5 separate regions of the Homo sapiens genome follow, and all the other regions are linked to region 1. Evidence: promoter capture Hi-C in 16 types of primary human blood cells and fetal thymus (Javierre and others, 2016). All regions are on one chromosome and are shown on one strand. The core of a region is centred on a gene start or on the middle of the fragment in contact, and the rest is flanking DNA. Distances in the headings are between cores, read along the strand shown. Region 1 holds the start of TIAM1-AS1 (TIAM1 antisense RNA 1). Region 2 has its middle 37 kb from the start of TIAM1. Region 3 has its middle 54 kb from the start of TIAM1. Region 4 has its middle 74 kb from the start of TIAM1. Region 5 overlaps TIAM1 (TIAM Rac1 associated GEF 1).

Region 1 (2,700 bases), core at 123-2,622:
CGGCGCCCCGAGGGCCGCCAGCCTGGACCCCAGGCTGGGACACGGGCGCCCCCGGGTGCAGGGGACCTAGAGGCGCCGTGCGCGGCGGGGGCTGGGCGCGAAGGCGCCGAGACGGCATCTTTCCCCTGCAGCATCCCGCCCCGCGGCCGGGGGGAGGGGGCGTCACCTGACAGCGCGCAACAACTTCTCCAGGTTTCGAGGGGGCAAGCGGCAGCCGCCGGGGCTGGGGGGCGCACGGCGCGCTGCTCTCGCCCAATGGCGAGGTCTGTAAACAAAAGCGGGCCCCACGCGGGTCCCCAGCCGGGTGGCGAGGGGCGCGGCGCAGCAGCATCGCAGCGGCAGAGCTGGTGAGAGGGCGAGGCGGGGACGGGATAGGGCGCGGGGACCCAGGGCACAGTCCCCGGGACCCGACCGCCCGGATGAGGCATTGTCTGCGCACCCGCAGGATTCCGCTTTTAATGCCCCCCTCCGGGGGTTCGTCGCGGGTCCCCAGCTCCGTGCGCCGGCCCCCGGGCTTTCCGCCCGGTGAGCCCGGCCCCGAGGGCGGCACGGATCGCCAAGGTGAGCGCCCAGGACGCGTCGCCGAAAAGCCAGGCCCGGAGGTGCCTAAGTCAGGGACCGAGACGCAAACATAGACACAAGGATGCACAAGCACGCCCTCCCCGAAGTTGACAAAAATCAGCCGATAAAATACAAAGTGCCGCGGCCGCCGCAGGTCAGCGCTGACCTCCTGCTGCCGAGAGGACCGAATGCCGACGTCCGGACGCTGTCATTTCCATCCAGCGAAGGCACCTGGGCTGCACGGTCTCGTCTCCCTCCTTCGCGCGAGGGATGCCTCCTCCTGCCTCTCCTCCCCGCATCTCCCCACCTCCCAAGTGTGTGAACACGAAAACAATACGTGGAAAGCCCGATCGGGGGGAGCTAGGACCCGCCGGGAGCCCCAGTGTGCGGGAGACGGGGGTCAGAACGTGCCCGGCACGGGCACCGAGGCTCCGGGCATCCTCGCCGCCGTCTCCCGGGGCGGCTCCGGCCGGACGCCCGCGCACCCCAGGCCCGCGGTACTCACCCGCGACGGTCGTCCGGGATCTCCGCGACGGGGCCGGGCACGATGCGGGGCAGCCGTGCCCCTGGGGCTGCGGGCGCCAAGGCGTCCGCGGAGCTGCAGAGCTGCGCGCCCGACGGCGGCGGCGCTGCTCTGCCGGCCGCGCTCGAACCCGCTCGTGGTCTGCCAATCGGAGCTGTCAGGGCCCCTCCGCCTGCGGCCTCGGGGGCCGGGCCGCGGGAGCCCGTGGGAAACCGAGCTCCGATTGGGCCGCCTGACAATCGCTCCGCCTCCGGCCAGCCAATCCGAGGCGGTGGATGCAGGAGCGGGGCGTTCGGAGTTGGGCTGTAGAGCGACTATGGGCGCACGCCGGGTATCCGCGCCGCAGCCAGGCTCGGAGCGCGCGGCTGGAGGGGCGCGGGCGGCGCGCGCTCCAGAGATGCCTTCCTGCGAGGCTCCGTCAGCGCGGCCCGGGGAGATCGCCCGCAGGCAGCGGAGGCGCGGCGGGCCGGGGGACGACCAGGGAGCCCCTAACAAAGCAGCTTTGGGAGGGCCGGAGGCCTCTGCCTCCCTCGGCGATAGGTCCGCGAAGCTGCCTGTCATCTCGCATAGGTGGAGGTGGCCAATGGCGTGCACAGACGGAGCTCTAGTTGGCGCGCGCGCGCGGCTCGGCATCGGTGGGATTGGTCGGAGGTAAAGGATTTTCCTGCCACCTAAGGCGGAGAGGAAGGGGGATCGAAACGGGGGAGGCGAAGAGTCAAAAAATGTTGTGCCTGGGACAAGTGGTCTGGCGCGGGAGGCGTGTGCCTGGCTCTAGGGGGAGACAGGAACTTTTTTACGAGAGAAAAAAATCCTAACGCAATCCCTTCCCGTGGATGCTAGAGGATGTTAGACCCTGAGCAGCCTCCAGGTAGGGCATGGTGGCCTTCACCAGAGTCCAGGACTCCCAGGGTTCACTTACCGTGCCCAGCAAGCGAACTTGGAATAACAGCGTGGGGTTTGGGCCTTACGCTTACCTGCTGGGCAGAGTAAGTGACTCGGGCAGGGTTCACGCAGACCTCCTGGGCTCCTCTGTAAAATCCGGAAACTACAGTTGCAGTTTACCTCTCGCAAGGTTGTGGAGAACGCGGAAACGGAGACGCTGGCGGTACAGCCTCGAGCGAAACCTTTCCCTACACGAGGCCGGAGCTTCCTCCTCTCCTGAAGAGCTCTAGACTTCCCCATTTACAACAAAGGCTGGGATGTATGTTCCTTACACCTTGATTCCATACACACGTGTTCGCCCCGGGAGCTGGGAAGGTCTGCGCTCCCGGGGTGATCTTGTTGAAAACAAAAAGAATTGCCCACGCTGTGGAAGATAAACCTAAACCGGAAAATTGAAAGTCATCCCTGATTCCTCCTTCTTCTTAACCCTCTCCCATCCATTTTTGTTAACCTCCCAAACCCATTCCTCCCATCCTGTCTCACCTGGACCTCAGTAAAGGGCTCCCATCGTCCTTCTGTCCCAGGCCTTGCCCCCTGAAATCTGTTCTCCACTTTGCAGAATGATCCTTCTAAGCAGAAAAATCTCATTTTGCGCTCCCAACTCTGGGTCTCTTTTCTTTCCCCAGAACACGTCAACCCCCAGCCCCTCCCTTCACTTCACTAATTCCTACCCT
Region 2 (2,700 bases), core at 42-2,541, 180 kb before region 1:
CTGTAATCTCAGCTACTCGGGAGGCTGGGCATGAGAATCGCTTGAACCTGAGAGGTGGAGGTTGCAGTTGGAGCACGCCACCGCACTCTAGCCTGAGCGAAATAGTGAGACTTTGTCTCAAACAATAAATGTTAAGTGGCTCACGCTGTAATCCCAGCACTTTGGGAGGCCGAGGTGGGTGGATCACTTGAGGTCAGGAGTTCGAGACCAGCCTGTCCAACATGGTGAAACCCTGTCTCTACTAAAAATACAAAGTTAGCTGGGTGTGGTGGCACATGCCGGTAATCTCAGTTACTTGGGAGGCTGAGGCAGGAGAATCACTTGAATCCAGGAGGCGGAGGATGCAGTGAGCTGAGATCACACCATTGCACTCCAGCCTGGGCAACAAGAGCGAAATTCCATCTCAAAAAAATAAAGTAATATAATATAAAGTAAAGTAAATATAAAAATAAAAAAATTATGGAAGTGTACATTTTAAATGGATGATTCGAAAGGGGTATGAATTATAGTTCAATAAAGCTGTTTTTTAAAAAATCCATCAGAGGATAATTAATCTATTACCACAGTATAAAGAAAAGGAATAGACTCAATACCCTACTTTTTTTAGTTCATTAAAATGTGGGTCAAAATCCTAAATTTAACATATCCACAATGTTCATAAAGCAGTTTATATAGTTAATTCCATATAATTTGCATTGTACCGGATCGGTTAGGGACAGGGGCTTTAGAATAAAACTAGGTTTAAGTCCCAACCCCTTCACTCACATGTTGAATGACCTGGGATCCTCCCCCAAGCCCCAGCTTCTCTATAGGTAAAATGAGGAAAATAATAGTGCTTCTTTCACCGATGAGTGAGTACCTGACACAGTGCAGCACTCAAACAGTAACTTTATAAGTAAATAAATAACAACAACAAAACCAAGTACTTGTGTGCAATATACTAAACCTTGCTAGAAGACACAGATAATACAGTCCCTTTCTTCTATTAGATTATGACACCAAGCTGACTGTTTAGTGCTGCAATAATAAGAATGCTATGGACTGAACATCTGTGTCCCCGCAAAATCCGTATGTTGAAATTCTAATCCCTAAGGTGATGGTATTTGGAGGTGGGGCCTTTGCGGGGTGATTAGACATGAGTGGAGCCCTCATGAATGGTATTAGTGCTCTTATAAGAAGAGACACTACCAGCCTAGACAACATGCTGAAACCCCACCTCTACAAAAAATAGACAAAATTAGCCAGGCAGCCGGGCACAGTGGCTCACACCTGTAATCCTGGCACTTTGGGAGGCCGTGGCAGGTGGATCACTTGAGGCCAGGAGTTCGGGACCAGCCTGGCCAACATGGTGAATCCCTGTCTCTACTAAAAATACAAAAATTAGCTGGGCATGATGGTACACGCCTGTACTCCCAGCTACTCGAGAGGCTGAGGAACAGGAATCACTTGAACATGGGAGGCGGAGGTTGCAGTGAGCTGAGATCACGCCACTGCACTCCAGCCTGGGCAACAGAGTGAGACTCTGTCTCAAAGAAAACAAAAAAATAGCCAGACATGGTGGTGTACACCTGTAGTCCCAGCTATTTGGGAGGCTGTGGTGGGAGCATCACCTGAGGCTGGGAGGTCGAGGCTGCAGTGAGCCATGATCACACCATTGCACTCCAGTCTGGGTGACAGAGTAAGACCCTGTCTCAAAAATAAAAAACAAAAAGAACAGACACTAGAGACATCCTCTCTCTCTGCCATGTCAGGATATATATAGAGAGAGGCTGTCTTCAAACCAGGAACCCAATCATCAGGGACCTTGGTCTTGGACTTCCTCACCTTCAGAACTGTGAGAAATAAATGTTTGTTGATTAAGCTGCCCAGTTTGTGGTATTTCACTATAGCAGTTCAAACTGCCTAAGACAAAGACCAATAAAGCATTATGAGGAGAGACTTGTGCAGAAGACATTTAAACTGGGTCAAGCAGAAATTCTTGAATTAGAGAATGAAAAGAGGGAAGGAAAGGAACAAAATGATAAGCACATCTCCCATGCAATATGCTTTTGCTAACTCTTATCCAAACACCAGAGACCTCTGGGGCTAGATGTTTGAACGCTTATCAGCGCACTGTATATCCGTATGAAAAACCACAAGGTAACTAGAAACCATTGGCTAAAATCATAGGTGACAAAAGGCATGACTTGAGATTTACGCCGTGTCTAGAACATAAGGGCAGAAGAAAATAAAAAGCAGACAGATTAATTGTGTATTTTGACCAAGGTACAAGGATCAAATAGATACATTTCAATTTCCAATTTCCACATTTCTGATCATTAGCTACCACACTCCTATGTATCTCATGAAAGAAAGCAAGAAATGAATTATCTCAGAGCCAAACAACCTCCTGACAACTCTTTGATCTGTTTTTTTCCGAAAGACTGACTACCTCCAATGACACTGCTCTCTGAAAAGGCAATTAATGAGACGGATGTAGCACACTGAATGAGAGGATTGAAGTACCTATGCTTTTTCTTTTGACAGTTTATAAAACAGATTTTTTTAACATGTCAGTCAATTGGTGATATTTTAAATGAGATCACAAAAGTCAAGGTCTTTGCTACAAAAAACACGGCAAACAAACTAAAAAAATTAATGAAAGCATGTGATTCTAGTGTGAAACAACGACCCATGTGTCATTATTGGTTCAAGAAGTAT
Region 3 (2,700 bases), core at 13-2,512, 160 kb before region 1:
GGGCCTGGTAGCAGATGCCTGTAATCCGAGCTACTCAGGAGGCTGAGACAGGAGAATCACTTGAACCTGGGGTGGAGGTTGCAGTGAACCGAGATCGCGCCACTGCACTCCAGCCTGGGCGACAGAGTGAGACTCCGTCACACACACAAAAAAAATTTAAATAATATTTTATGCCCTTCCACTTTTCTAATAGTGGAAAGAAACCAAAGCAAAGGGATCCTTCGATCGCTGTGATATGATTGTATTTAAGCGAACAACATTCTAGCAAGACCTATATTCAGACCAGCCTGGAAGTGATAAAGTCTGTGTTCAACTTAGCAGCAGATCTTTAGATGTAACATCAAAGAGGTAATGAAAGGGAATTAGGATTTTTTAGGTATCTTTTATATTCTAAGCACTATGTTTGGCTCTGAAGAGATATGATCTCTTAACAAAGAACTATCATGCCCGTTTGTAAGTGTCATTTTATAAACAGCAAAAAACTGAGGCAGAGAAGTTGTTCAAAGTCACATATACAGCAAGTGCCAAATTCCTATACAGATCTTTTTGCATCCAAAAGCTCTAAGGGTCCATGTTTCAAACCGCTTCCTTCCTCTTTTCCTTTCTCTCCTCTTTTCCTCCCATTTTAATTCCTTTGAAAAAAATTCAGAAGTAGAAACCAATATACAAAAATCTTGATACCTGCCACCCAAAATGAACATTTCTAATTTAAATCATGAAAATCACATTGACCAAATCAGCTCCTGGTTTAAGTTGCCCAATATCCCCGCGCCAGAAATGAGATAACAGGACAAAGAGCTGGTGAAACCTCATTCAAATTACAATTTATGGCCATCCTTCCTGGCTTGGTGCCAACACGTTATGATCCAAATCTGTTAGGGGGAGTCTTCCCAGTCAAAGGCAGCTCTGTGTAAAACAAACCTCTCTATACAGAAAGAAACGCTTTCATTCCATTCCAGAAGTCAGAATGTGAAGATGCTGGGCTGCTTTCTGCCAGGGCAAAACGAAAGACATGGAAAACAGGGAAATGAGAAGGGACAGAGGCAACAGGTCTCACACTAACCATTTACAGATAACAAAGGAACTTCAGAATTCTTCCCTGCTACCTTGTAGAATGGATGAACCATGGAATACCTGATAAACTTCTAAGCAAGCTTCAGCCTGCCCCTGTGCAGATCTGCACAGACTCCAAGTACCTCCCACTGCCATGGGATGTACATGGACCAATGTGTTGGCTTCCCTTTGACCTCCCCCCTACAACCTCCCCCAACCTCCCCTCTGCACCAGCAGAATGGGACCCAGGGGCACAGGAAGTGCCTAATCTCTGCAAGCAAATGTCAATCTTCAGGGCAAAAAAAAAAAAAAAAAAAAAAGCTTTGTTCTTTAGAACCAGAGTTGAAACTAGGTTGAAATGACCACATCAATTCACTAACTTGAATTCACAAAGGAAGCACCTGTTTTCAGAAAGGCGTGTAAAATTGTAAAACAATCTTACTTTTTATGCCATCCTTCTGAATGAAGAACTGTGGATAAGCTGGGCCTGGGGGAGACCTGGTCAGTTTTCCCACACAGTGGTAATGGTTTGTGTTACTGAAGAAAATGTCAAAAATTTTTTCTTAAATAAACCACCACATAATTTTACTCCACTAAAAATGAGAAATAACATAGCCATGGGAAGTAGCCCACATCTTTTGTATTCTCCATCACACTTCAAATATCTAAACACCTGACCAAGCACATAAAGAAATGGTGGATGTGCTATCACTGCAAAATTCCAACTGTAGGCAGAAGTTTGCCATCCTCATAGCACAGTACACAGTTCCCAGACAGGAAAATTCTTTGTGCTCCCTCAGTAAAGGAGAAAAATTATGACCAATTACAATAACAAGGGCATTAGCCACTTTGATAAATATCTAAGCAGGCTTCCGTCTGTGCCTGGGCAGATATGGAGAACGATTTAGTGTGATATGAGAATACAGAGTTGATCACTTATCTTGTGAAACTGAAGAAGAAAGAGAAATGTAAACGTCAGCATCTCTTATCACCCAGGCTCTGACTCTTCTCAAACTATTAAAAATAGCCTTTGGGATGGGCCCGGTGGCTCACGCCTATAATCCCAGCACTTTGGGAGGCTGAGGCTGGCAGCTCACCTGAGGCCAGGAGTTCGAGACCAGCTTAGCCAACATGGAGAAACCCCATCTCCACTAAAAACATAAAATAAATAGATAAATAAAATAAAATAAAAATAGCCTTTGCCAGAAACTAAAAAGAAACAGCAAAGCCAAAATTAATTCCACAAGGCGGAATTGGTTGCTTTACTCATTTATACTATGTATAATAAAGAGTAATAAATTTCTATTATTATAAATCTTACTTTGACATTTTAGATATAACATCAATGCCCCCTGAGATATACTAAAATTTGTCTATAAAGCAAGGAAATTATTTTTTTTTAATATTGGCTTGGATAAGTTCTCTCTTTAAAATTTATATGAGAATATCCTTAAATACTTCGTGCCATTTCAAACCGATTTTGATTTAAGATATATTACAATCTATTAAAGTTTTAAAAATAATAAATTAACGTTTAGGTCAACTAAATTAAATAATTATATACAATACATTATTGCTTTAAATCCCAAGGCAAAGAAAGGAAATTGCTTCTTCAGGCTGACAGAATGAATTGTATGCATCCACTGT
Region 4 (2,701 bases), core at 189-2,688, 140 kb before region 1:
AGGCACGCCTTACATGGTGGCAGGCAAAAGGAAAAAATGAGAATCAAGCAAAAGGGGAAATCCCTTATAAAAACATCAGATCTCATGAGACTTACTACCATGAGAACAGTACGGGGGAAACCACCCCCATGATTCAATTATCTCCCACTGGGTCCCTCCCACAATACGTGAGAATTATGGGAGCTACAATTCAAGATGAGATTTGGGTGGGGACACAGCCAAACTATATCAGTGTCCTAACAAGCAAAAAGCAAGCACTTGCCATCAGGGACAGAAGAGAACAGATGTACACCTGCAGGTCAATTCCTGCCACACTCTACCTGTGCAGTCAGGGACATGGAGGTTTTCAACAGGATGACCAGGGACAGTCTCGCTGAAAAAGAAACATGACAGAACCCACACCTGAAGGGGGTACATTATGTAACTACCTGGGGAAGAGTGCTCCAGGTAGAGAGACACAGGACAAGAGGCTTGAGGCTGGCACTTGCCATATGAATGAGCAACAGCTGAGTGGAGAGAGAGAGAAATTGAAGATGGGAAGGGGCAGCTCAAGTCAGCCAGGAACCACTGTGAGCCCTTCAGTTTTTATTTCGGGGCAATTGGAAAGGCCCAAAAGGTACTGAGCAGAGTGACACTATCTGACTTTTAAAAAGGTGCCCTCTAGGCCAGGTGCGGTGGCTCATACCTGTAATCCCAGCACTTTGGCAGATCACTTGAGGTCAGGAGTTTGAGACCAGCCTGGCCAACATGGCGAAACCCCATCTCTACTGAAAGTACAAAAATTAGCAGGGCGTGGTGGCACACGCCTGTAATCCCAGCTACTCGGGAGGCTGAGACAGGAGAATCACTTGAACCCGGCAGGCGGAAGTTGAGGTGAGCCGAGATCACGCCACTGCACTCCAGCCTGGGCGACAGAGCGAGACTCTGTCTCAAAAAAAAAAAAAAAAAAAAAAAAAAAGTTGCCCTCTGGCTACTGTTTAGACACAGGGTGGTGGGAAGGCAAGAGAAAAAGCAGCATCCAAATGCAAATTAAACAGCTGCTGTTTTCAGGCAGGGACTGAAAACACCAGCTACCAACTTGGATTTAAGAAAATGGCCAAGGGTGTCCACTCTCCCCTACCCCGGTGGCTGCAGATACAAAGACCTGCAGCATCCTGGCGAGGGATGAAAGGAGAGCTCTCTGTAGTTTTTCAGGCCAACTCCACAGAAGCTATTAGAAAGGTTAGCAGTAAGTGCAGCCCAGCTTTAAACACAGGAGTTAGAGGGGTCACCTCAAATGAAAAGGAGACTGAGAGACAACCTTCTCTTGGGAGCTCCCCTGGAAACAGAGGAAAACACACCGCCAGAGAAGAAAGTCGCCCTGAAAATACCAGCGACACTGGACTTTGCACAGAATCAGCTTCAGAGAGAGGCCTTTTGCTGCAAGCAGGGTGGCGAGGCCTCTTAGAACTACCGTTTCTTTTACTGCAGTTGAAGGAAAGAAAAAGGAGTCAAGGTCACACACTCAGGTGGCTTTGAAGCCCAGCCCCCACCGAGCGGTCTAGCCCAGTAATCCTAGGTTGAAGATGTGTGCAAATTACTCTTCTCTGCACCTCCCATGGTCTCCACGAGATCTGCCGGGCACACCAGGGCTGGCCAGTGACCCTCCTGAAGGAGCTTCAGCTCTGGAATCAACTCAGCCTGAGACCCTGGTAACTAAACTCCTCCAACCTCCTCGCTTCTCCTCCAAAAATCGGTATTCAGTGAGATTCACGTATGAAGAGCACTCAGCACAAGGATGGTACTCAGCAAAGGGGAGTTATTATTGGGATCATTATTGCTAATTCTCTTCAGCTGCACATGAATGCGTGAGAAATTCATGTTAAGTAAAGTAAAATAATGGAAACATTCACTGGTACCATAAGCAATAGATGCATCATCATTAAACAATAGAGTGATAAAAACAGGACAGTGACGCACCTTGTAGAGCGATGTGTCATCTAAAACATCTATTCAAGGAACAGAAGACTCACCTTCAGTTAAATGCCATCCTCCCCAAGATCTTGATCCTTCGGAGATACAAAATCTTCAGCAACACTTACAAGTGAGCTGTTAATACTAGTATGTCCAGACGCTGATGACAGCATTTAAAACCCTCTTTCTGGACACTAATTCAGCAATAATATGCATTAGATGCGTTTAACAGTTTAAACTCTTTTTCCAGTAAATCTGTGTTTAAAATTTTTAATCTAAGGATGGAATAAAAGATACAAAGATTTACACACAAAGAAGTTAATACACCCCACAAGTAGAAAAACAAAAGTGGAAAACAAAATGATGAGCAAAAAGAAGCAATTAAATAAACTACATAACATCCTAGACTGAGCGTGGTGGCTTACACCTGTAATCCCAGCACTTTGGGAGGTCAAGGCGGGTGGATCACCTGAGGTCAGGAGTTCAAGACCAGCCTAGCCAACATGGTGAAACCCCGTCTCTACTAAAAATACAAAAATTATCCAAGCGTGGTGGCGCGTCTGTGGTCCCAGCTACTTGGGAGGCTGAGGCAGGAGAATCGCTTGAACCCGAGAGGTGGAGGCTGCAGCGAGCCAAGATCGTGCTATTGCACTCCAGCCTGGGCAACAAAAGCAAAACTCCGTCTCAAAAACTAAAAATAAAAAATAAATAAACTATATAACATCCTTATAAGAAACTTCTCTGCAAT
Region 5 (2,700 bases), core at 161-2,660, 250 kb before region 1:
CTCACCTCCTTCTCTCTCACCCACACCTCTCTTTAAAAAGCTGCCCTCCTAGCTCCCTGGAAATTTTATCAACGGCCAGTTGCTGAGAGAAAAGTGATTACGACATTTTCAAACTGGGGTTTTAACATGACTGAACCCCTCCTGAGTCTTTTAATAATTTGTATGAGAATTTGCCTGGAGGCGCAGAGCTACCCTTCTGTGCCAGTTTATGAATTCTAAACAGGCCTCATTTTTTCAATTTAGGCACAAAAACAATTCTCCCTAAAACCTCCAGGAAAAAAAAATGTCTATGGCTTATTTAACCCAATCTAACTACAAGATATACTTTTTTTAAAAACGTGGTGACTGGAGCCAGAAGGTGTCTGCTCACGGGGGTGACTGCCATGGTGGTGTCAGAAGCCCCAAAGGGCAAGTCCCCCAGGGGAGGAACCGCCAGTGTCCTCACAATCCAGGCAGAGCACAGGATGGTGGCACACAACGAGACAGAGGAGCACACTTGAAGGGGTGCCTGCAGGCCAAATCAGGGACAATTTGAGTACCAAAATAAATAACAGAATGGCCTGGCAACCCACCAAGACCTCATCTCTACAAAAAATTTAAAAATAAGCCAGGCATGGTGACATGCACCTGTAGTCCCAGCTATTTAAGAGGCTGAAGGAGGAGGATTGCTCGAGCCCAGGAGTTTGAGGCTGTGGTGAGTTCTGATTGCACCACTGCACTCTGGCTTGGATGAAAGAGCAAGACCCTGTCTCTAAAAAAAAAAATCAATAAATAATACTACTAGCAGATTATAACCCACTGAATAAAATAGGAAACTACAAGTCCATATAGAGAGAAATAAAATTGGAAATCTGATGAGAAAGAAGAGACTTATATAATTTCAAAGTATCCCCCCACAAAACATTTACTAACATTTCTTTCCTTCACAAAGAGGAAAATAATAACTTCACAACTGGGAAGGCTGGCAATGCTGTCTTAACCAAGTGGCCAAGGTGAGTAGACAGCATCAGAAGTAGGACAGGCCAACTTCGGGAGCACTCAGAGAACACACAGGAGGAGGACACCCTACATCGTGGCCTGTGATGTGTCTGCCAGTGATGCAACGATCCAATGTGGAGTGAATCGTGAGAAAACATCTGGGCAAACCAAACTGAGGGGCATTCTACACAACAACTTGCCTGGACTCTTCCAAAGTATCAACGTTGTAAGTCCAGGAAAGACTGTGCAACTGTTCCTGACTGAAGGAGTCTAAAGACACGAGACAATCACGGGCAAGGCATGATCCTCCACTGGAAACCTTCGCCGTTTTCCAGCGCCCCGATTGACTGGCAGGAATGGGTCAGCTCATGCTGTGACTCTGACCCCTGTATGGTGGCTGTATAGAACAGTTGCCTTGAAAAACACTAATGTCTTTGGTAAGAGCCAAAGACATTTGGTACTCTCGAATGATTTAGAGAAAATAAAATTCTTCATACTGCATTGCATCGCCAACTTTTCTAGAAGTTTGTGTCAATTTCAAAACAAAAACAAAATCTCAAACCCGACGGCTGATTTATTCTTAGTTATGTATACAGGTGAAAACAGATATGGATAACTGATATAATGGAATGAGGCACAAATTACCACATCACTTATTCTACTAATGTGAGAATTAATGACAATGTATAAAATTTGCTAATTTTGTATTAGAAAAAACAAAAGGCCCTTTAGCCACATGGGTTAATGTGCTCTTCTTGTCCTCACCAGAGTATCCACACCCTCAGCCAGCAGGTTGTGCAAATTCAGGGCTTTGCTCTGTCTTTTCATGCCAAGCCACTCTTATGACCATTACCAACCCTCTGAGTACACGGAGGGCTAAGAAACACCTCCTGCATCCAAGAGTCCCAGGACACCATCCAGAACACGGCCAGAACTAAGGAACCAAATAGGAATCCTTGTCAGGTCTTCTGCTTTCAAAGGCCATGCTGTCACAGACTGAACAAACACATGGGTTCTAGTCCCGGATCTACCCCGGAGAACTCTGTGGCAGTATCACACTGGGCCTTGGTTTTGCTATCTGGAAATTGGGGAGGTGGGTGCGATCATCTAATTCTGATCAACCCCACCAGCATTTAATAAAGGTCTCCCCTTTTGCCAGGTCCTGGTTCTGTCTTCAAGGAGCTCAAGTCTAGCAAGGAGGGGCTTGCAAACAGATGCCTCTGGACAAGTGAGGGGTAAGGGGAGAGGGGCCATTATCTCATTAGACGGTACAGGCTCCATCCTGTTCAGGAAGAAGACACTGGAGAGGAGGGAAGGTTACAGGAAGATGGAGAATCTCAGTTGAATTTACAAGATAAAAAATAGAGGTTTCCCTAAGTGAAATAAAAGGATGGGGAGAAGAGAGCCAAGTTAATTCAATCAGAGTCAATACTATACAATGGGCTGGGTGCGGCAGCTCACACCTGTAATCCTAGCATTTTGGGAGGCCAAGGCAGGCAGATCACTTGAGAAACGAAATCGGAATCCCTGTCAGGGTTCAAGACCAGCCTGGGTAACATGGCAAAACCTCATCTCTACAAAAACTACAAAAATTAGTTGGGCGTGGTGGTGTGCACCTGTAGACCCAGCTATTCGGGAGGCTAAAGTAGGAGGACTGATTGAGCCTAGGAGGTGGAAGTTGCAGTGAGCTAAGATCGCGCCACTGCACTCCAGCCTGGGAGA

Evidence for each region. The method cuts DNA at HindIII sites, captures the fragments that hold promoters and counts their contacts. A CHiCAGO score of 5 or more calls a contact.
Region 2: a contact is called between a fragment that was not itself captured here and the fragment with the promoter of TIAM1-AS1 in region 1, in 9 of 17 cell types (activated CD4 T cells, fetal thymus, naive CD4 T cells and 6 more). The highest score is 12.6, in activated CD4 T cells.
Region 3: a fragment that was not itself captured here is called in contact with the fragment with the promoter of TIAM1-AS1 in region 1 in 3 of 17 cell types (fetal thymus, naive CD4 T cells and activated CD4 T cells); the score reaches 11.6 in fetal thymus.
Region 4: a fragment that was not itself captured here is called in contact with the fragment with the promoter of TIAM1-AS1 in region 1 in 2 of 17 cell types (activated CD4 T cells and fetal thymus); the score reaches 7.7 in activated CD4 T cells.
Region 5: a fragment that was not itself captured here is called in contact with the fragment with the promoter of TIAM1-AS1 in region 1 in 5 of 17 cell types (activated CD4 T cells, naive CD4 T cells, non-activated CD4 T cells and 2 more); the score reaches 15.4 in activated CD4 T cells.

What each region holds. Positions count from the first base shown.
Region 1 is chr21:31,557,861-31,560,560 of GRCh38, forward strand. TIAM1-AS1 (TIAM1 antisense RNA 1) reads left to right here and starts at 1,373. Exons shown (of 2, transcript NR_171013.1): 1 at 1,373-1,735; 2 at 2,157-2,627. It also overlaps a transcript of TIAM1 not described here. RefSeq lists enhancers at 1-186, 1,000-1,812 and a silencer at 1,092-1,721. The HindIII fragment of the contact is 6,855 bases long and covers 1-2,700 here.
Region 2 is chr21:31,380,139-31,382,838 of GRCh38, forward strand. It overlaps a transcript of TIAM1 not described here. Among named protein-coding and RNA genes, the nearest start is that of TIAM1, 37 kb to the left of the region's middle. The HindIII fragment of the contact is 3,733 bases long and covers 1-2,700 here.
Region 3 is chr21:31,396,808-31,399,507 of GRCh38, forward strand. It overlaps a transcript of TIAM1 not described here. Among named protein-coding and RNA genes, the nearest start is that of TIAM1, 54 kb to the left of the region's middle. The HindIII fragment of the contact is 220 bases long and covers 1,153-1,372 here.
Region 4 is chr21:31,417,411-31,420,111 of GRCh38, forward strand. It overlaps a transcript of TIAM1 not described here. Among named protein-coding and RNA genes, the nearest start is that of TIAM1, 74 kb to the left of the region's middle. The HindIII fragment of the contact is 5,634 bases long and covers 1-2,701 here.
Region 5 is chr21:31,305,532-31,308,231 of GRCh38, forward strand. The region is part of intron 2 of TIAM1 (TIAM Rac1 associated GEF 1); the gene reads right to left. Among named protein-coding and RNA genes, the nearest start is that of TIAM1, 37 kb to the right of the region's middle. The HindIII fragment of the contact is 5,166 bases long and covers 1-2,700 here.